Linked DNA regions of Homo sapiens: region 1 is linked to region 2. The links are contacts of gene promoters, found by promoter capture Hi-C in blood cells and fetal thymus (Javierre and others, 2016). All regions are on one chromosome and are shown on one strand. Each heading gives the region's core, a stretch centred on a gene start or on the middle of the fragment in contact. The rest is flanking DNA. Distances are from core to core; before and after follow the strand shown. Region 1 holds the start of USP36 (ubiquitin specific peptidase 36). Region 2 holds the start of TMC6 (transmembrane channel like 6).

The links. The method cuts DNA at HindIII sites, captures the fragments that hold promoters and counts their contacts. A CHiCAGO score of 5 or more calls a contact.
Region 1: a contact is called between the fragment with the promoter of USP36 here and the fragment with the promoter of TMC6 in region 2, in 2 of 17 cell types (activated CD4 T cells and non-activated CD4 T cells). The highest score is 5.6, in activated CD4 T cells.

What each region holds. Positions count from the first base shown.
Region 1 is chr17:78,837,079-78,842,434 of GRCh38, reverse strand. USP36 (ubiquitin specific peptidase 36) reads left to right here and starts at 1,621. Exons shown (of 21, transcript NM_001385174.1): 1 at 1,621-1,699; 2 at 3,685-3,848. LOC124904067 (a long non-coding RNA gene) reads right to left here and starts at 1,321. Exons shown (of 2, transcript XR_007065923.1): 1 at 1-1,321. RefSeq lists silencers at 1,134-1,233, 1,694-2,213 and enhancers at 1,354-1,543, 3,138-3,652, 3,653-4,167. The HindIII fragment of the contact is 3,098 bases long and covers 916-4,013 here.
Region 2 is chr17:78,126,812-78,130,357 of GRCh38, reverse strand. TMC6 (transmembrane channel like 6) reads left to right here and starts at 1,603. Exons shown (of 20, transcript NM_001127198.5): 1 at 1,603-1,746; 2 at 3,452-3,546. The coding sequence starts at 3,526. RefSeq lists silencers at 1,510-2,039, 3,310-3,389, 3,440-3,489 and an enhancer at 2,720-2,969. The HindIII fragment of the contact is 18,616 bases long and covers 1-3,546 here.

The DNA of each region.
Region 1 (5,356 bases), core at 372-2,871, 710 kb before region 2:
GTAGAGACAGGTTTTCACCATGTTGGCCAGGCTGGTCTGGAATTCCTGACCTCAAGCGATCTGCCTGCCTCGGCCTCCCAAAGTGCTAGGATTACAGGCGTGAGCCACTGTGCCCTGCCTTTTTTTCTTTTCTTTTCTTTTCTTTTGAGACGGAGTCTCGCTCTGTCGCCCAGGCTGGAGTGCAGTGGCGACATCTCAGCTCGCTGCAACCTCCGCCTCCTAGGTTCAAGGGATTCTCGTGCCTCAGCCTCCTGAGTAGCTGGGATTACAGGCGCCCACCACCACACCCAGCTAATTTTTGTATGTTTAGTAGAGACGGGGTTTCACCATGTTGGCCATGCTGGTCTCGAACTCCTGACCTCAGGTGATCCGCCCACCTTGGCCTCCAAGTGTTGGGATTACAAGGGTGAGCCACCGCGCCCAGCCCAAGGATTCTTACAGATAGGGCATAGTCTCAGCATCAGACTAATATGGTTATCTTGTTTGCTTTTTTCAAAAAACACCAGCGCCCAGGTAATAAATACAAGGTGAATTTTGTTCCAAGTACATCTAGCCTCTCTCCCCATCTCCAGTCCCTGCTTTAGGATCCGTGGGGAGGGCATGGAAATTCGTTTTGGGTTGTTTACCTGTGACTTCACCCTACTCATCATTCCTACTTACATCAAAAAAGACACAGCAGATACGACTGTGTTTGCAAAGTTCTGCCTTTTGGATAAAGTAGTTTATGCCCATCCTGTGCTTCTCTGAGTTTCTGAGGTCAGGCCAGGAACCAACACTCTCAACCTGCCCAAGGGAATGGGGAGGAAGCCAGCGAAGTTGCCTCAGATCAAGAGGATTTTTAAAAATACTGCAAAAGAAATACGTGCTCACAAATACTCAGCTAAAACCTTCGCAGAGCTGTCAGAGGACAAAGCTTTTGGAGGGAGTGGGTGGAGCTAGAGATTGCACAGCCGCCACCAGCCTACAAAGGTCAAATCTCACACTCTCAGATCCCTAATTCCGAAGAGCCATTTCCTCGGCAGCCCCAGGCTTTGGCCGATCGCTCCCAGATCCCTCCCTCCCCAAACTGCAGGTGCTCCGCGTGTGGGAGTCACGGATGGCCCCAGAGCCCGGGACGTTAAGGCCGAGCGCCCGCGCCTCCGCTTCTCCACAGCCACCTGACGGCCAGGGGCAGGTGGGGGAGCCCAGCCTTCTCCCTGCCCGGGAGACAGCGCGGGAGGGCTGTTGCAGGGGTGGGCAAAGTCCCTCGAGTCCCCGTTCTGGGGCGGGGGCGCGCGCCACTGTCACACTTCAGGCGTCCGCCACGCCGCCAGGTGTGCTCGGCCGACCCGGAAGTAGCGGCACCTCTAGTGCGCTGCGGAGACGTCACCCTGCCGCGGCACAGGGGCGGGAGCGCCTGTGGCTCTGCGCACTTGCGTCATCACGTAGGCTGGCGGGGTCCCGTGATGGGGAGGTGACGTAGGCGACACGGAAGCGGCGGTGGGCGGGGACAGGGAGTTAGCGGAATCTAGCCCCGCCTCTTAAAGCCTCCCAACCCTTTCGGAGTTAGCGCAGCGCGAACGCTGGGTGCGGCGCCTTTAAGCGTCGCGGTGACACGTGTGTGAGGCGCCGGAGGCCCGGATGGTGCGCGTGCTGGGCCGCGGGCCGAAGGAGTCGCCAGGGCTGCGTAGGCTTGTGGCGCGCCCGCGGAGAGGCCGGGGTAGGCTGGGGTCGGGTCGGGGCGGTGCGCAGGCCTGGGGACGAGACCGGGGCGGGGGGTTCCGCGAGGCCTGGGGCGCGGGAAGGGCTGGCGGGCGCAGCCGGGACGCTCAGGGAGAACGTGGGCGCGGGTCCGCGCAGGGCTTCGGCCGTCCCCGAGGAGGACCCGGGATGCTCCGCCCGCTCGCGAGCTCGCTTCTCCAGAGCCCGGGTATTCCCGAGGAGGGTCCGGGGCCGGGCTGTCCTCGCCGGTCTCCGCCGTCCCCCGGGCTCCGGGCCGGTGATGGGGGTCGCCGGGGCCCGCTGTCTGTGCAGGATTCAGGTCAACTTCGGAGAGGTTGAAGTCGGAATCAGGGCGAGGGCGTCGCGTGCGGCCGCAGAGCTCAGCGGGGCGGGTGCGGCCCCGGGGCGGGCACCTTCCTCGTGGTTGCGGAGGAGGCCATGGAGCCCGGGGCGGGGTGCGGTTCCGATGCTGCTGCTTCTGGCGGGTGGCGTGGGGGTCCTGGGCCTGGGGCTGGAGTGGCGGCCGCCAAACCCAGACACACGAGAGGGGAGACTCCGCGCGCCCCCGTTTACGTAACGCTCGCCACGGAGCCATGCTCGGGGAGAGGTGCTCGGGTCGCTGTGTCCGCGGCCGGGCTCGGGGCAGGCGCTGCGGAGTCGCCCGGGAGGCCCCTGGAGCGCGGCGCTGGGCCCCGGGAGGCCGCTGCTTCCGTGGGCTCCTCTCCCCAGCACGTGGTTGACCCTGCGAGCGTCCGTTGCAGTTCATCCTGGAAAAGTGACTTTAGAAGGAGGAGGGAGCGGGAATGAGCCTAAATGGTGCTGGCTGGGGTTCGCGCAGGTGGAAATGTGGATGAGGCCTGTGCTGTCCTTGGACAAGAGAGAGCATCCTTCCTGAGTTGGGTAGAGTGTGGATGGTGTGTGCGTCGGAGGGATTGCTAGTGATTACAGGAACACTTGTCTCGGGCTCCTACACGTCAGAGAGCGAGCGAGCGTTGTTTAGGTTATTGCTTAATGTTTTAGGTGGAATTGGTGAAGTAGAGATTGACCTGTCCCACTTGAAAAATTGTGTTCAAAATCTCTGCATCTACATTAAGGAGTGGGTTAAGTTCAAAGTTACTTATCTCGAGTGAAACTGGGTTACATCTCCCAAGGTTCGTTTATCCCCTCCCTAAGTGGTTCTCAAGCGTTGGTTGTGCATGACAGAGTTCTCACCTTCCAGGGTAGATGTGAGTCCTAACCGAAAGCAGTGATATTGTGGGGAGTTTTTAATACGACTGGATGTCTTCACTTTGTAGATGGCTTTTATTCTGAGATCATTTCCTTACACATTTTTCGGGAGTTGGTATGCTTTTATTTATGGATGAAGTCATAGGTCTGAGATTTGCTGTAGAATTACCTGGGGATGGGAAGTGACTCAGGATGGGTCAGATGTAGTTACTGAGGCTGAATAAGGGGGGCTCATGTGCTCCCTGTGCGGTTCTCCATCTGTGTGTTTGAATGTTTTCACTGTAAACTGTTTTTACGAACCTTAATTTTATGTAATCATAGTGATCGTAGATGGTAATGAAAGAGAAAATCCACACTTAGCAAAGCAAAATTTTGGCAACTCCTATTACTCCCTGAGGTTTGTTGTTGTTGTTATTGAAGTTTTACTGGTTCATTAAATCCAAAACTTGGGGATTTATTACCTCTTACTCTTTGGAAATAAGATTAGACTGGAGCTGACTGGCAGGTGTTGGGGAGGTTTTCCTTCTCTGGGCTTGTCTGGGGTCAAGGTTAAGGTGTTCATATCGTGTGCATTACAACAACTGGTGATGAGGTAGTACGGTCCACCCGCCTCATCCTGAGTGCACGCGTGGATGCTCCTTGGACGGCTTTTTCGTGGTAGAGGGTTCCCGGTGCGCGCCGCATCCCTGGGAAGTAGCTGAAGAGAAGGCACAGGAAGAGTCGCCTCCACTGATGGTCTCCCTGTCCCTCCCACAGGCTCTGACGCCCGCTCTGCGGCTTCGGTGTTTGAACAGGCCACAGTCCAGGAGCGCTTACATTCAGGAGCTCCGCGTAGCACCTGCCCAACCAAACTCAGCCCTCCGTTAAGATCCTGGTTCCATGCCGCAGTAGGACAGCAGGCCCAAGTCTGCACATCCCAGGTGAGTCTGCGAGGCTTCTGTGTATTTTTTGATTCCGTTGAATTGTCTGCATGTGACGCAGCAGTGATTGTTCAGTTGGTGAGAAGTCTTTGATAATTCTCATGAGAAAAGGCTCTTTTATTTTCTCAAATCAGACAACTTATAATGCTTTTTTTTAAATAAGCTTCTGAAATTTCTTTACAGAAGTTTTTTGTTTTTTGTTTTTTTTTTTTTTTGAGACCAAGTCTTGCTCTGTTGCCCAGGCTGGAGTGCAGTGGCGCGATCTCGGCTCACTCCAACCTCTGCCTCCCGTGTTCAAGCAATTCTCTGCCTCAGCCTCCTGCGTAGCTGGGATTACAGGCGCCTGCCACCATGCCTGGCTAGTTTTTTTGTATTTTTAGTAGAGAAACATCTTCGCCAGGCTGGTCTTGAATTCCTGACCTCCTGATCCACCCGTCTCGGCCTCCCAAGTGCTGGGATTACAGGCGTGAGCCACGATTTTTTTTGTTTTAAAGATGGGGTCTCACGATGTTGCCCAGGCTGGACTGCACTGGCTATTCACAGGCGTAATCATAGCTCACTGCAGCCTCAGGCTCCTGCCCTCAAGTTATCCTCCCACCTCAGCCTCCCAAGCATCTGGGACGACAGGCCCAGGCCACTGCACCTGGCTTTTCTTTACAGAAGTTTTTGTAGAAAAAGATACTTGATCCATGTATAGAATTAGATGATCCACAGTGATAAATTTGAATGGCTTAATATGAGGTGCTGGAGGAAGTCCTTACTTTCACTAGAGCAGAATTTTGGGGCACACTTGACTTGTTGATTCTCTGAGGGCAGGCTGGGTACTGAATACCAGAGGAAGTCATCATTTTTCTGATGTGAGTGAGCAATTTAAGGGACATATTTTTGAAATTGTGACTCAGATAGTCTGTGCTGTGTTTGGGAAGGTTAAGTTGAGAGGTGGTGGGTAGGGGAGGGCAAGTGGTGGATACAAAGGTAGCGATTGGAGAGGTGCAGGGGTCTCTTCTTGGTTACAGTTTCCATGCAGCTGCACCAACAGTATCGATCCTCTGTTAGGGACTGTAGTATGTAGCAAGCTCTAAAGCACTTCCCAAGCCTATTATTTTTGTTGCTATTTTACAGTAGAATAGGGGGTTTGGAGAAGTCATAGTAGTTGTCCCTGGGTTTCATAGCTAAGGATGATAGAACCTCCCGGGGCCACCACATTCCAAAGCCTGTGATCTCCCCACTCTCCTGCTTGGCTTTTCTTCTTCTCTTTTGATAAGAGTCCTGGGAAGACATTTGTTTAAGTTTAGGTGTCTAATGGATACTAGTCTCTAGGCCTGCTACTTGCTTTTCTTCTCCTTCCTCACTTTTAAAAAGATAATTTGTACTCCAAGCACTGTGTAATGGAGATTAATACAAGCCACAAATATAATTTAAAATTTTATAGTAGCCACATTAAAAAGAAGCAGGTGAAATTCATTTTCATAATTTATTTAACTCAATATATATAAAATATTACCATT
Region 2 (3,546 bases), core at 354-2,853:
AGGGGCCAAACTCTTTATCTGCCGGCCTCACCCTGGAGGGTGTGATAATGACAGGATGGTGGGCTCCCCAGAACCTGGCTGCTGGGTTTCCAGATACTCTTGGTGTTACTGCTGTACTTCCAGCCCCTGTCATTGGCGTTATGGTTGTGCCAAGACCCAGGCCTAGCACCTGGCCGGTAGTAAGTGCTCAGGAATTGGCTCCATTCATGCTCTCCCAGGCTAGATGTTTAAGACATATCTTTGCCAATTCTCTGTCCTTGGGCCCCTGGGAAGCCCGCAGCCCTTCCTCTCTGCTCCCTCTCTACCTGCTATAGGGCCCAGTCATCTCAGGTCTGAATGTTCATAGCTTTTCTGCCTCTCTGCCCACCTCCTTCCTGGTTTCCAGAGTCCTTTCTGTGTGTCAGGCGCAAGCTATGTGCTGGTGCTGGGCACACAGTGGGCTGGGGTAGGAGGGGGCACAGAACCACAGATGTACATGTCAATAGGAAGTGGTAGGTGCTCCACCAGGGTTCAATCTGGGGAGGCTCCCCAGAGGAGGTGGCATTCATGCAAATTCAGTGTGGGTATGCAGGGAGGGGGAAGCAGTGGGAGGAGAGGCAGGGGCTGGGTCTCCATGCCAGGGTGCCACTTGCCAAGAACCAGCTTGGGGTAGCCATCTGAGGACCACACTGGCAGCTCCAAAAGGCCCCAGCCTTGACCCCTGCCTGGTCCTCGCTTTTGCTTGCCTGCTCTCCCCTGCAGCAGTGCCCTCTCCTGCCCTCCTGGGCCCCAGCTCACATTCACCCTGCCTGCTTCATGGCTTCTCCCCGCCAGGAATGACCCTCCCTTCCAAATGGGCTTGGGGTGGGGGGTACAATCTCAAAGGCAGTTTCCTCCATAGAGTTCCCAGGTGGACCACTAAGTCTCCTGCTTTGGCTGGGGGCACCCTAAAGGGTGATTAACTTCTCTCAGCCTCAGTTTCCTCATCTGTGAAATGGGAATATCAGTGCATACCTTCCTGGCTCATGGGGAATAACAGAAAACAGGGCAACGGGTACAGCACCTGGGGACAGTCACCTAAGTGTCAGCGTGTCCTCCTTTTCATCCCCTCCTCTCCACACAGCACACAGGAAGTGAGCCAGAACTCTTGCTAGATAAACAATGAACCCCGCCCAGGTGTCAGGAGTGGGAGATAACCAGGCTCCCCCCGCCGGGGTCGGGGAGAGTCAGCAGGAGGCTTGCGGGGGCGGCGGGGGGGGGGGCGCTGCCCAATCTGGAGTGAGATACTCTGTGTCCCTGGGGCTTTCGGCGGCATCTTACTTGGACGATCCCTAACCATGGGAAGCAGATGAGTCTGGAAATATTGCCCCTTTTTGGAACTTGGGGAAACTGAGCGTCAGAAAAATTGGGGACTTCAACCAGGGGCTGGAATGAATCCAGCCCAGCTCAGACCTCAGGAGGAGGGGTCGGAAGTTGGCAGGGGAGGAAGGCATAGTCGCCGCGGGGCGCCCGGAGGAGGGCGGGGGCGCCGCGGGCCGGGCCGGGTCACGTGATAGCCGAGGCCCGCCCCCCCCCCCCCCGCCCACGTGGGCCGGGAGGTGCGGCTACTCCCCCGGCCCCGGCAGACCTGCGACTGGCCCAGTCGCCCCTGGGGCCCTTTGCCACTCCCTTGGCAAGGAGAGCCGAGACCTCAGTTCCCGGCGGCTCTTGCGGGGCACAGGTGAGCCCTGGCTGCGCGCGCGGCCCCTCCTCCCCGGCGCCTCCCAGGTGAGCGGCCGCGATCCCGGTCCCGGGTCCCGCCAGCCCCAGCTGCTTCTCCTATGCGGGGACAGCGGCAATCCCCCCTGAATTCCTTTCGGCCTCTGGGGCCATTTGGCAGCCGAGTTCCCTCCCCGGGTGCTCCTGGAGCTCCCAGGGCTTGACCCTCCGGCTCGGACAGAGCTGGGAGCGGCAGGGGCGGGGAGGACAGTGCGGGGAGCAAAATCCGCAGCCCCCACCCAGGTCCCCCAGCCGAGCGCCAGGGCACGGGGAGGGGAGGGGAGGGGGTGTGGCCGGGATGGGAAGGGGCGGGGGACAGGGAGGCCGGCTGGACGGGTTCGGTGGCCCCAGAGTTGCAGCCGCTCTGGGCTCTGGGGCCAGGTTGCGGTTCTCCCTGGGTAGCGGCTGCTCCCGGGAAGCTCGCTGCCGGCTGGGGTGGGGGTTCCTGGAAACGGGCGCCACCCAGCCTCTCCCCACCTAGCTCAGGAATGGTGCGCCTGGAAACTCCGCTGGACTTGCCTGGGCCTCGGGGCGGAGTGCTGGGGCGCTGGGTGCCCGAGTCCCCGGGTTCCCTGAGCTTAGAAGGGCCTGTCTGGAGGAAGGGATTCCAGCTCTAGGGACTGGGTGGGGCGTCCTCAGCCCCTCTTTCGGCAGCTGTCCCGTGTTAGGCTGGGTGGGGCCGCCTCGGACCCAGCTCTGGGCTGGTTTTCCCACGTCTTTGCTCCTGCTGGAGGGAGGGGGTGGTGTGGGGCCTGGGCCCGAAGATGGCACCCAGGACACTGAGGGAGGGCGCCGTCCGGTCCTGTGACTGGCACCCCTGCAAGGAGCTGCTCTGTCGGGGCGCCCCCGGGCTTTGCCTGTCCGAGGAAAGCGCCCTTCAACCCGGCCGACTTTGAGCCCTGAGTTCCTGAGGGTGAGCGCAGGAGGAGTCCAGGGCAGAGGCCGGCAGGACTCGCTGGTGGCTGGGAGCTGAGTCCTGGCTCCACTCTCACAGATGAACGGGCCCCGAGCCCAGGGCCCCAGACAAGGCTGCTCTGGTTCCAGTTGTGCCGGGTGACGGCAGAGCCAGGACAAAGGAGGCCTGTTGAGGTCCTGGCCACCCCCAGCCGGCCGCCCTGGGATGATGGAATGCAGGGCAGTGGGTCTTCTGAGAACATGAGGACCTTGGCGCCCTGACGGCGGTGGCATGGAGTGACCTCTGTGTGTGGGGGAGGAGCCCCCTGTGCTGCTTCCGCCTGGGGCTGGTTGGGGGTGAGGGCTCCAGCAGCTAATTTCCTGCTAGAGGAAGTTCTTTGAGGTCACAGGGCAGACGCAGAGAAGGCCTACAGCCTACTCTGACCTTTCTCTCCAAAAAGGAGGTGTCTCTGTGCCAGAACCCTGGGCATGGAGATCCTGAAAGGGGCTGTGTCTACAGGCACCCTACCTCTTCCCCATTTCCCAGGGACTGGCGACATCGAGGAAACAGATGTGGAACTGCAGACCCCACACCCTTCCTTCCTCTCTCCCCTCCCCTGACACTGGAGGGGGCCCCCCATTCCATTCTGGCATGAGGCTTATTCGGTGCCTCACCATTTATGTACCTGGGGTGATAGGGGGGTGGGCGGGACTGTCTGGGCTGTGAGTGGCACCTCCTGTGGTTCCCCCAGGAATGGGTGGTGTGGACAGCTGCCAGGCGTTGAAGACCACCCCTGGCTCTGTGCCCCTGTCTCATCAGATGGGGGCTCCGGAGGTGGCGCCCAGGCTCTGAGCTACCCTAGGTCTGCAGACTAGCGGGCATTGGCCAGAGACATGGCCCAGCCACTGGCCTTC